Linked DNA regions of Homo sapiens: regions 1 and 3 are each linked to region 2. The links are contacts of gene promoters, found by promoter capture Hi-C in blood cells and fetal thymus (Javierre and others, 2016). All regions are on one chromosome and are shown on one strand. The core of a region is centred on a gene start or on the middle of the fragment in contact, and the rest is flanking DNA. Distances in the headings are between cores, read along the strand shown. Region 1 overlaps BRD8 (bromodomain containing 8). Region 2 holds the start of PKD2L2 (polycystin 2 like 2, transient receptor potential cation channel). Region 3 overlaps KLHL3 (kelch like family member 3).

What was found. The method cuts DNA at HindIII sites, captures the fragments that hold promoters and counts their contacts. A CHiCAGO score of 5 or more calls a contact.
Region 1: a contact is called between a fragment that was not itself captured here and the fragment with the promoter of PKD2L2 in region 2, in 3 of 17 cell types (M2 macrophages, M1 macrophages and M0 macrophages). The highest score is 6.4, in M2 macrophages.
Region 3: a fragment that was not itself captured here is called in contact with the fragment with the promoter of PKD2L2 in region 2 in 1 of 17 cell types (M2 macrophages); the score reaches 5.3 in M2 macrophages.

The regions. Positions count from the first base shown.
Region 1 is chr5:138,150,527-138,154,379 of GRCh38, reverse strand. BRD8 (bromodomain containing 8) reads left to right here. Exons shown (of 27, transcript NM_139199.2): 21 at 1,620-1,898; 22 at 3,372-3,635. Among named protein-coding and RNA genes, the nearest start is that of NME5, 13 kb to the right of the region's middle. The HindIII fragment of the contact is 1,764 bases long and covers 1,099-2,862 here.
Region 2 is chr5:137,888,207-137,892,203 of GRCh38, reverse strand. It overlaps PKD2L2 (polycystin 2 like 2, transient receptor potential cation channel), which reads right to left and starts at 2,747. Exons shown (of 15, transcript NM_001300921.2): 1 at 2,682-2,747; 2 at 1,622-1,723. The coding sequence starts at 2,712. PKD2L2-DT (PKD2L2 divergent transcript) reads left to right here and starts at 2,885. Exons shown (of 4, transcript XR_948815.3): 1 at 2,885-3,057; 2 at 3,916-3,997. The HindIII fragment of the contact is 1,963 bases long and covers 1,397-3,359 here.
Region 3 is chr5:137,622,339-137,626,119 of GRCh38, reverse strand. It overlaps KLHL3 (kelch like family member 3), which reads left to right. Exons shown (of 15, transcript NM_017415.3): 14 at 224-367. Among named protein-coding and RNA genes, the nearest start is that of MIR874, 23 kb to the left of the region's middle. RefSeq lists an enhancer at 3,152-3,201. The HindIII fragment of the contact is 1,498 bases long and covers 1,212-2,709 here.

The DNA of each region.
Region 1 (3,853 bases), core at 731-3,230, 260 kb before region 2:
GCAAACCGAATGGAAGGTGTAGGCATCTGGTGGGGGTGGTGGGTGGCAATACGGAGAAAAATGTAATTAGAACAGGGATTATACTAAGGAATAAGGAGGTGTACATGTGAGTGAAGGGAACAAAATAAGGCTAAATTTGTGGAGGACTTTGGCAGATTGAGAAATTTATATTTGAGGTGATAGCTGTTATAAAGCCTTGAGTAGAATAACTATATTTGTTGAGAGCAGATAGGATTAAAGATAGAAAAGCTGACTAGGAGACTATGGCATTTATTCAGGAAAGGATGGACACTGAGAAAACTTATTGTGGGAGAAAACTGGGAAGAGGACTTGCTTACTGAATATAAGAGAAGGAAGGGTCAAAACAGAATTGTGGGTTCTGTAGACTAAGAAAATGGTGATGGGGTCGGGTGTGGTGGCTCACGCCTGTAATCCCAGCACTTTGGGAGGCAAAGGTGGGTGGATCCCCTGAGGTCAGAAGTTCAAGACCAGCCTAGTCAACATGGTGAAACCCCGTCTCTATAAATATACAAAAATTAGCCGGGCATGGTGGTGGGCACCTGTAATCTCAGCTACTCAGGAGGCTGAGGCAGGAGAATTGCTTGAACCCAGGAAGCAGAGGTTGCAGTGAGCCGAGATTGGGCCATTGTGCTCCAGCCTGGGCAACAAGAGTGAAAGTTCGTTCAAAAAAAAAAAAAAAAAAAAAGAAAAGAAAAGAAAATGGTGATGGGGATAAGGAAATTGGGAAGAAGCAGTGATTTTGGAGATAAAGGAAATGTGATTTTTATTTTAGAAATGTTACAGCAGGTGGTAGAGCATCTAAAGGGAATTGACTTTTGGATGCATGGAGAAATGACACCAGAATTCATATAAGAAGTAAAGGTAGAGAGATTTGGGAGCCACCTGAATAGAGGTCAAAGTTGAAACCTCAAAGTATATATACATTTTTTTAAAATACATTAATAAGAAAGCAGAGGACCAAGCATGAACATAGAAGGTAGGGATTTATTGAAAGTTGTAAAAGGGAGAGGACAAAGAAAGATATAAAAAAACCAAGATAGTGGTGTAATGAGAGCAAGGGAAGATATATTTTAAGCTTAATGTTTCTCAACATCAATTTGGATATGACCAGAAGGATGCCAAAGGCAATCCTAAAGTGTGTTTTGAAGGTTTAATGGTTCATAGGTTAAAAATGTTTATACACTGAGGAAAATATCCCCTGCCCCCTCAATTTGTTTGCCTTACGGTTTAGTTATGGATGATTTGGGCTAGAGGAAAATAATTGAGCTAGCTATGCTCCAGTTCTTTCCCTTCTTTTGGTGTGAATATGAGGAATTCCAAGTAAAAATAATTATTAGGTAATATTAATGTCTCTATTATACTGTATTGTATGGTGCAATATCTCTGTTATACTGACATGGGGCTTTCTTTATTCCCAAAGACAAATATAATTTCATCTCATGTCTCCCTTCAGCAAGATTTTAATTCTTCCTAATGATGAATACTTGAATACAAATAAATTTCTGGCCCCTTATTTTTCTACTGAACTCGGGAGATGGAGATGCCTCAGGAATATTTATTTGAATGAATTTAATGCATGTTTTCCTGTGTATTTACAGATGGGACACGAGTGGGTTTGGCTGGATTCTGAACAAGATCATCCCAATGACTCTGAGTTGAGCAATGACTGCAGGTCCCTCTTCAGCTCATGGGACTCCAGTCTGGATCTTGATGTGGGCAACTGGAGGGAAACTGAGGATCCAGAGGCTGAGGAACTAGAGGAAAGCAGCCCGGAGAGAGAACCTAGTGAACTGCTTGTTGGGGATGGAGGCAGTGAGGAATCTCAGGAAGCGGCAAGGAAAGCCAGCCACCAGAACCTCCTCCACTTTCTCTCTGAGGTAACAGTGAGCTCTTATTTCCAAAGCTGGAAAAGCCTCAACTTTCTAAGAGAATGCTTATCCTTACATGCTTCTACCACTCTTAATATTGTTTACTAAAATATAAGCTCCACAGTGGCAGGGATTAAGTTCATTGCTATGTCCTCAGCACTTGGTGCTGATACAGAATATGCACCAAATACATGCTTTTTGGGCCGGGTGCAGTGGCTCACGCCTGTAATCCCAGCACTTTGGGAGGCTGAGGCCAGTGGATCACTTGAGGTTGGGAGTTCGAGACCAGCCTGGCCAACATGGTGAAACCCCATCTCTACTAAAAATACAAAAATGGCCGGGCGCAGTGGCTCATGCCTGTAATCCCAGCACTTTAGGAGGCCGAGGCGGGCGGATCACTTGAGGTCAGGAGTTCAAGACCAGCCTGGCCAACATGGTGAAACCCCATCTCTACTAAAAATACAAAAAATTAGCCGGGCGTGGTGGCGGGCGCCTGTAATCCCAGCTGCTCGGGAGGCTGAGGCAGGAGAATCACTTGAACCTGAGAGGCGGAGGTTGCAGTGAGCTGAGATCACACCATTGCACTCCAGCCTGGGCGACAGAGCGAAACTCTGTCTCTAAATAAATAAATTAATTAAAATTAAAATTAAAATTAAAAAATTAGCCGGGCTTGGTGGCATGTGCCTGTAATCCCAGCTACCTGGGAGGCTGAGGCAGGAGAATCGCTTGAACCCGGGAGGCGGAAGTTGCAGTGAGCTGAGATCGTGCCATTGGACTCCAGCCTAGGTAACAGAGCGAGACTCCGTCTCAAAAGTAAAAAAATTAAAAATAAAAAAATACATGCTTTTTGACTGAATTTCTAATACTTCAGTCATTAGGGGCCTGGGTCATAAGGACTGCTTTATGAGTATCCTTGTAATTCATGCTTTTGGAGTTGTGGGAAGTTATACTTGCCCAAATTTTCCTTGAAGCTTAAAATGCTGTAACTTTAAGGTAGTATTTTTAAGTGTCATTACCTTGGTTAAGGGCTGAGGACCAGAAATAAACAGAATTGGACAGAGAGTTATATGTATGCTGTTATTGAACACATTTAGAAGACCCTAGATCAAGATCAGCAAGCATCCATTTCAAATGTTGCCACTTCTCTCTACAAGTGTCTGTGGTAGACAAAATTTTCAACACTTTATTCTAGACAGCCACTCCCAATTGATCAGAGTTGACAGCTGAGATGAAAAAGTAGAACATAAACTCCTGGAAGAGGCAAGAACCATATCTTTCTTGTTCACTGTAGTGTCCCCACCAACCAGCCCAGTGCCTGTGTATATAAGATATTTTGGCAGATTTTAGATGATTGTATTAATTAAACCATTTTGTCCTCTCAGACTTAGTCACTGTGACAGTGTTAGCATGTGGCATTGTTGATATGTGGATGATGATTTTCAGTGGTGTTCCTGTGCATCTAATAATAAACTTTGATTGCAGGTAGCTTATTTAATGGAGCCCTTGTGCATCAGCAGCAACGAATCAAGTGAAGGCTGCTGCCCTCCATCTGGTACCAGACAAGAAGGAAGGGAAATTAAAGCTAGCGAAGGAGAAAGGGAGCTCTGCAGAGAGACTGAAGAGCTTTCAGCTAAAGGAGACCCCTTAGTAGCTGAAAAGCCACTGGGAGAAAATGGAAAGCCAGAGGTGGCTTCAGCTCCCTCAGTTATTTGTACAGTTCAGGGACTACTCACAGAGAGTGAAGAGGTAAGAAAGTAACTTAAATCAGCTGTCTTGTTGGTCTTCTGCCTAGGGAAGCAGAACAGAGTAGTTAGAGCACATAGGCTAACTCCAGAAAGTTAAACTACCTGGATCCAAATCCTGGATTTAGCACCAGTTTTAGCTGTGTTACCTTTAGCATGTTAGTGAACATTTTAGAACTTCAGTTTTCTCTGCAGAAATGCAATAATAGCACCCTATTTTGT
Region 2 (3,997 bases), core at 1,498-3,997:
TCTGCAAGTTGACTTTTTCTCTACATGAGAGTAAGGCAATATAGTATGGTGAGTGGTTAAGGTTACATGGACTTTGAATTCAGACAGATAAGGGTGTGAGTCCCATCACAGGGATAGTATCTCTTACCCCCTAGTTTTGTTGTGAGAAGTGAGATGATGCACACAGAACATTTTAAACTGTGTTTTGGCACATGATGAGTTTTTAAAAATATTAACTAGTGGCGGGGCGTGGTGTTGCACCCATAATCCCAGAACTTTGGGAGGCTGAGGTGGGTGGATCACCTGAGATCAGGAGTTCGAGACCAGACTGACCAACATGGTGAAAACCCTGTCTCTACTAAAAACATACAAAATTAGCCGGGCGTGGTGGCACAGGCCTGTAATCCCAGCTACTCCGGAGGCTGAGGCAGGAGAATCGCTTGAACTCAGGAGGTGGAGGTTGCAGTGAGCCACTGTACTCCAGCCTGGGTGACAGAGCGAGACTGTCTCAAAAAAGAAAAAAAAAAGAAAAAAAATCACATTATAAATGGAGATTCAGGTTGCTGTATTATATTAAAAAAAGTGTTCTTTAAAAATCTCTGAATAATGGGATTATAAATGATCTTTTTACTTACATTTTTACATTTTCCAAATGTTCTGTAGTAAGCATGTAGTTTTCATAACCAAGCTTTTATAAAGCAGTCTAAGATATCTTAATTTATAAAGTTGCCTACAGTTATCTTTTTTTTTTTTTTCCTTGGGACAGGGTCTCAGCCTGTCACCCAGGCTGAAGTGCAGTCGTTGCAATCACAGTTCACTGCAGCCTCGACCTCCTGTGCTCAAGCAATCCTCCACCTCAGCCTTCTCAGTAGCTAGGACTACAGGGGTGTGCCACCACACCTGGCTAATTTTATAGTTGTCTTTTCAATCAAGAGCAGACTCAAACTCACCCCTACAACACCAATTAATTACTTAATTGCTATACAATTGCCAGTGTGTAGCACATACCAACATGAGACAATACTGCCAGTGAGCTTTCATCTACTGTTATGTTGGGTGCCATCGACAAATGCTCTTTAATACTCCTCTTTGCATATTAAGCCAATGCTATTGACCCACAGGTAGGAGGAATGCAGGTTGAGATGTTTTCCCAGTCCTCCTTAATTATTTGCATTGACTCAGCACAAACTATTTTTTTAACTGCAATAGGTCAGTGAAAAGAACCAAGCTAATGGCAGACACCAAGATGAACTTTGGCCTCATTTGTACTTTGATTTATGAAACTCAGCTGATGTGTCTATATGACTCTAAACAAAATCAAATTGCAGTTGCCAACCCAAGGGATGAATTATGCTCAAGACAGAACTGCCAAATGAAAGGAATAATTCTAATTCAGTCAGTATTGACTATGGAAGCTTCTTACATTTGCGATGTAAAATTTTGCCCCTTAAGAACTGAAAATAGTCAATTTCTAAATGAAATGAATCTAAATGAATTTAAGATTATGTTTAAACGTGTCACTGTATTTTGAGTTTTAGTAGCCTGACAGCCTGTGGTTTTGAAGTTTGTATGTTTTATTTTTCATCTCCACATTTTAACTTCTTAGTTCAAACAAACAGCATCTTTATATCTGTGTACTTACATATACATAGGTTTATTAAAAAAATAAAGTAGAGTAACAATTCCTGAAGTGTGGTTGTAATTTCTACTTCCTTTCTGTAATGCAACTTATGTTTCGAAGCCCCTGTGAGATATAAGACAAAATTTTTCTTTACATTATTATGTAATTTATAAGTGACAACAATGGAAAAACCACAGCCACTTTTAGTCCTTACACTGCGGGGAGGAAAGCTCCAATAGCTTCTGGCTATTTTTCAATTCTTAGTTTTACGAGGCAGGGATAATTTTTTTACTATATACTATTAATAACAGATTTTTTTTTTGAGACGGAGTCTAGCTCTGTCGCCAGGCTGGAGTTCAGTGACGCGATCTCGTCTCACTGCAGCCTCCGCCTCCCCGGTTCAAGCGATTCTCCTGCCTCAGCCTCCCGAGTAGCTGGGACTACAGGCGCGCGCCACCACACCCAGCTAATTTTCGTATTTTTAGTAGAGATGGGGTTTCACCATGTTGGCCAGGATGGTCTCGATCTCTTGACCTTGTGATCCGCCCGCCTCGGCCTCCCAAAGTGTTGGGATTACAGGCTTGAGCCACTGCGCCCGGCCACTAACAGATTTTATATCATGATGTCTTCTCGCCAGTCTTAAGATGAAAAAGCAAAATACGAAACAAGTAAAACCTCTCATCTGTCCTAACCGTTTTCTCCACCCTCAATACAGCTTCTTGGGAAGGCTGGTTTCTGCTGGACAGGGGAAAAACACCTCGGCTTGAATTCTGTCAAGGTCACGACTCCCCAGATCAACCAAGGACTTTAGAGACCGGCCTAGCGACGGTCACTCGACAGGTGACAACGCCCAGCTCGAGCCTCCGGCAAGAGGCGAGCGCCACCTCGCTCAGGGCTTCAGTTTTCCCGTCTGTGCAATGGGACCATCTGTCCCTCTCCGCTTCCCCAGGGGAGGCTGTGAGGGCTAAAGGTGTCGGCAGTCACATCTCTCAAACGAATTTGGGGCCGCAGAGTTCCTTTCAGGGTGTCTGGAACTGCCAAATCGCCCCTGTCCCTCCCACTCCTTAAGAGGACCCCTCACCGCCTCGGTGCCACCGTGACGCCTCAGCCATGGCGGACCTGCACTACACCGCCCGTTCGTTCGCCTGAGGCCGCGGCGCTTGCGCGCTAGTCTTGCGGCGCGCGCTGCCCGGCTCTGACGCCTGCGCGAGCCCCCAGCTCCTCCAGGGCGGCGAGCTACTCGACAAGTCGTCAGCGCGGCTGCGCCGCAGGAGCCCGGGAGGCCTTTCGCCCGAGGCGGGCTGCGGGCTGCTGGGGTCTGGTGCGGAGGGCCAACTTCTGGGAATAACCTGGCTGTGGGCTTAAAAATCGTAGTCATTCATTATCACGGGCTTCTCTCTCTCGAATACCTTTAACATTTATCGCCTTGTTAGTCTCCACATCCACCTCCGTGAAAGGTAGGTATTTTTGTCCTCATTTTAGGCCTGAAGAAACCGAGAAGCTGAGAAATGAAGTAATTCACTGGAAGTTGGGGCCAAGTCTTGGATGCCCAAGCCCAAATTCCTAACCGTGACCCTACGCTGCTGCTGCTGCTGCTACTTGCAGAAACTGGTTATTAACCGAGAGCTGTTGCTGGAAGTAGCTTCCACTCCCCTGCCCCCGTGATGTAAAAATAGATGAAAAACTCTGCAGTGATTATGTGAAAGGTCAGGCCGACACAGGAGTCCTGGGGCCCAGACCCACATCTGACCCAGAAGCTTTGCAAAGATGAGAAGGTTGGTAAACCAGCTATAGAAAAGGCCAAACTAATTTGGCTGTAAATTAAGGCAGCCAAAAGCCCTCCAGGATGTAAGACCAGGACGGATTCTCGTGTTGATAAAAAGGAAAATAAAATGGAATCCAGTCCAAAGGCCCCAGGGAAACCTGCAAAGAAAACCACTAACCAGTTTTGAAAGTAAAAGATAAAGCCACTTTTGTTATTTCCCTGAAAGAGATGTAGACTGCTGTCGATAAATGCTGTTTTATGTGTAGATAAAAAGCAAAACGGCCACACAGTAGTGAGGGTCAAAAACTACCATCGATGAGAGGAACAGGAGAGGCCTCGCAAAAGGCTGACAGCCAGTGAACTAGAAGCCCGAGAGGAAAAAAAGCTTTAGAATAGTTTTAACAAAAGGATTTGGGCTTTCCTGTACTGGGACTCTCAGCTGTTCACAAAATTATGCTTTCTAAAGTAACAGATTATCTGAAATTGAAATTATTAGAGGAAAAACACCCATATATAGGTAATCAAATTTACATAATTTTTTTTTTTTTAGAGATGGAGTCTCGCTATATTTCCCAGTCTGGCCTCAAACTCCTGATCTTAAGGGATCCCCAGCTCAACCTCTCCCAGCAGCT
Region 3 (3,781 bases), core at 711-3,210, 270 kb after region 2:
CAGAGAAATGATCCTGTTAGGAAGAAGGATCCTTGGAGCCCAGTGGCTGTTGTCAATATTTTCTTTCACTTAGCAAACTCAAACCTGTGGAGCCAAATCTCTGTTGTATTGCCATGAAGGGAGGAAAAGAGCCTCCCAGGCTATCCAGATTTGTCTCTTGATCAATTCTGATCTCTTAGTGCACCTGCTGTGATGTCTCCCATGGCTTTTGTTTGACTCACAGGGGTCTGTGCAGTAAATGGGCTCCTGTATGTGGTTGGAGGGGATGATGGATCCTGCAACTTGGCTTCGGTGGAGTACTACAATCCTGTCACTGACAAATGGACGCTGCTTCCAACGAACATGAGCACGGGGCGGAGCTATGCAGGTCAGTGTGTGCCATCTCCATGCCCATCCGAGAGGCCTCCAACACACTGGGGGAATGAGGGTTGGGTGGGCCAGTGGGATGAGGGGATGTGAGCTTGCTTAACTTGGGCCTGAGTGCCTCCTCCAGGGATGACAGGTAATTGTTACATGGCCACCACTCCTTCATTCTGCACTCATGACAGATATTGATAATTAGCACTTATTAACCCCTGCCCCTGCCCGAACCCTGTGAACCTGAAGATAGCCTCAGAATTTATAACATTCATTCCATCGAACCACTTCCAACTGAACTGAGTTGTCACAAGTGATTTTAGAATTTCATTGCCATTCCTGGTTTACTTTGTGCCAGGCTCCTAGATGGCATAAGATGCGATTGTTGTTGTCCAGGGTCGAATTGGACAACTGGGAAGACAAGATGATGCATATACAAGTTCTAAATGACATACGCTAGACAGGTTTTAGCACATGAAAGACTGGTGAGAACTGGCAAAGCCAGGGAACCCTTCCTGGAGGAGATAGGCTCAATTAAACTTTGAGGGTGGATCACAATCACACAAATAGCTGTCCTTTACTGCGTGGCTGGCCCCGTGCCATGGGGCAGTGTGTTAGGAACAGAGTGTGCATTTGTTCTCATCTTTTCAACAACCCTTGGGCTGAATGGGACTCTATCCGTCTATTTTATGGATGATATAACAGGTTTGGAGAGTTTAAGTAACTTGCTGAAGGCCACACAGCTAATAAATGGCAAAGTCAGAGTTCAAACCCAGAGTTCTAAGTCCATGCCCTTTGTGCTACCCCAGCTCAGGGTAAGCCTTAGAGTAAGGCACCAGGCGGGTGTGGAAGCTTCTTGGGGAGTGTGTGTGAGGGGTTTGGTGAGTAGCAGGGGCAGGGGTGGCATCAGAGTTGGTACTACTAAGGTTGGGTCCATGGGGAGATGAGCAAATATATATCCATGGTGTAGTTCAGTTCCTTGTATCTGGTTTTCCAGAACCTGGAATAGAGATAACATTATTGATCCAGCATGCACAGAACATACCAGGCATTATCCAAAGTATTTTATAGTCATTATCTCTTTTAATCCATACCACGACTCCAGGAATATTCTTCCGATTCCCATTTTGCATTATAAAGGTCAGTCATTCCATCTTGTTTGACTGCAGAGGAAGATTGTGCTGTGCAAATTTGAAGGAGTTTGCAGCACATTCTTTCAACATAAGACTTCTGTTGTAATGAACTTTAACTTTTTTCTTCCTTTAGAGTTTTTTTCACCTTGTAATACTTTTCTTGGCTAAGTATAAAACATTTTAGAAGAAGTTTGGTCCTGGAGTAATTCTGTTCTGGGATGAGTGAGACAAGTGAGGAATCTTCCCTTGACTCCATGTGTGCCTTAATGAGAGGGGAAGAGTTAAGTGTGGGTGGTTAGAATTTCATATATATGCTGAATATTTCATGTCCCTTTCTTCATTGTCTGCCCTCTCCAGAAGTAGGTAGGAAGGAGACAAGCAAACCTGCAATTTTATGTTCAAACCCACTTACTGAGTCTATTATCTTAAAGTCTAAGGAAATGCTCCAAAATACAAAGATTTATGGACAAATTTATTGGGGCCTTACTTGTAATAGCAAAAAACTGAGAATTACTTAATGTCTGACATGAGGGAAATAGCTAATAATCTATGGGATATTTATATAGTTTATGGATTTTTAATGTTATGAGAAAACATTTGTAATAGCCTGTTAGGTTAAAAAAGGATGCAAAGTTGTATGAACCTTGTGAACTCACGCATATAGTCCTGTATTGGTGGTAGTGGGAGTGGGGGTTGAATAGCTGCTGCTTCTTCTACAGATGGATATTGGAGTCAGATATGAATTTGAATCCCAGCTCTGCCACTAGCCCTGGGTCTCCGGGCCAGGTATTCTATCATACTGAACCCCTGTTGTCTTATTTGTAAAATGGGAATAAAATTAGACTAAGCCTTTTAGGGTGCTGTGAGAATGAAATGCAGTAATACTTGTGAAGAGCTAAGCACAATGCCTGCCTGGCATTAGACACCATGCAGTAAATGATTGTGATTATTGTTAGATGCTAGAAAGTATTCCAAAAAGACAGTGGTGGTTTTCTTTGTGTGAAGGGATTAAAGATTTTTTCTTTGTGTTCTGCATTTTCCAGATTTCCCATAATGAGAATATATTACTTTTATTATTAAGATAAAGGTTATATGAAAAAGCAACACAGGAGCCTGCTTTCAAGAAAAAAAAGCTACCTTCTGAAAGAGATGTCTGAGATTCAAGTAAGATGCTGTCAAGACCAGGCACCTGGACTCAGGTTCTGCCTGCCTTGAAGCTTCTGTGTCTGCACCTTTAGCCAGGAATAAACAGGAAATAGATGTCTTAGCAGAATATCTCCAGTGGGGTATCCTGGCTTGATTTTAGCCATGTTCTCTCAATCTCATCTTCAATCAGAACATTTCATAGTTGTGGGACTATGTTAAAATAAGGCTGCAGTAATATCCTGCCTGTAAACACCTGTAAGTTAGGATTTCATTTAGCAACAGGCACCAGAAACCCTGACAGATACTTTCCTAAATAAGGAAGTGAGTGTATTTGTCTCAAGTAGAAAGAAATCCAAGGTTGGCCTGGGGGCTCAGACTGACAGAACCAGGTTTCTCTTCTCTTTTCTATTCTGCCAGCTTTATCAAGGGCTGCTGCCTCCCCTTGGCCTTGCGTGAGCATTCCAGTCACAACAAGAACAAAGCCAGCGTTGCAACACTGGCACACTTGCCTTTACAGTCTTAGTGGCCAGCACTGGGTCACGTGGCACATCTAGCTGCCAGGCAGTCTGGGAACCTGAGCTTGCAACTTGCTGGTGGCTGTAGTCGAGGATAGCAAGTAGGAAGGATGTTGACGGAATCAACCTGTAATATCTGCCATGTAGCCTCAGTCCCTTACAGTGAGATTTTGGGTCATGCGTGGATTTATAGTTAGGTGCTGAGCATGGTTCACTCGGACTAAAACAGTAACATAGCATACATGTCTGGAGCATTTATCAAAGTCGAGATTGTCACACTGGCAGGGTCTCTTAGATGACATTTGTGTGGGAACTGAGCCTAAAGAGGTCAAAGAACTTGCCAAAGGCCATAGTGCAGGTTGACTGGTGGCAGAGCTAGGAATGGAATTCAGTCTTTCTTGCTCCCATGAAGGCAGCCTGCTGTACTTTCCGCTTCATTCCAGTGTCTTCTAAAAGTAGAGATGAATCACCCATTGCTTCTCTTACAGTGATTCAAATTTAGAACTGCATAGCTGCCCCTGGGCGCTGAGCATTGTTGGGCTGGGTGCTAGGGCTGGGGATGGGAGTCACCACAGTGAGTCCATGTGATGACACAGGGTGAGGCCACTAGTCAGTGGTGTTTGAGGGACT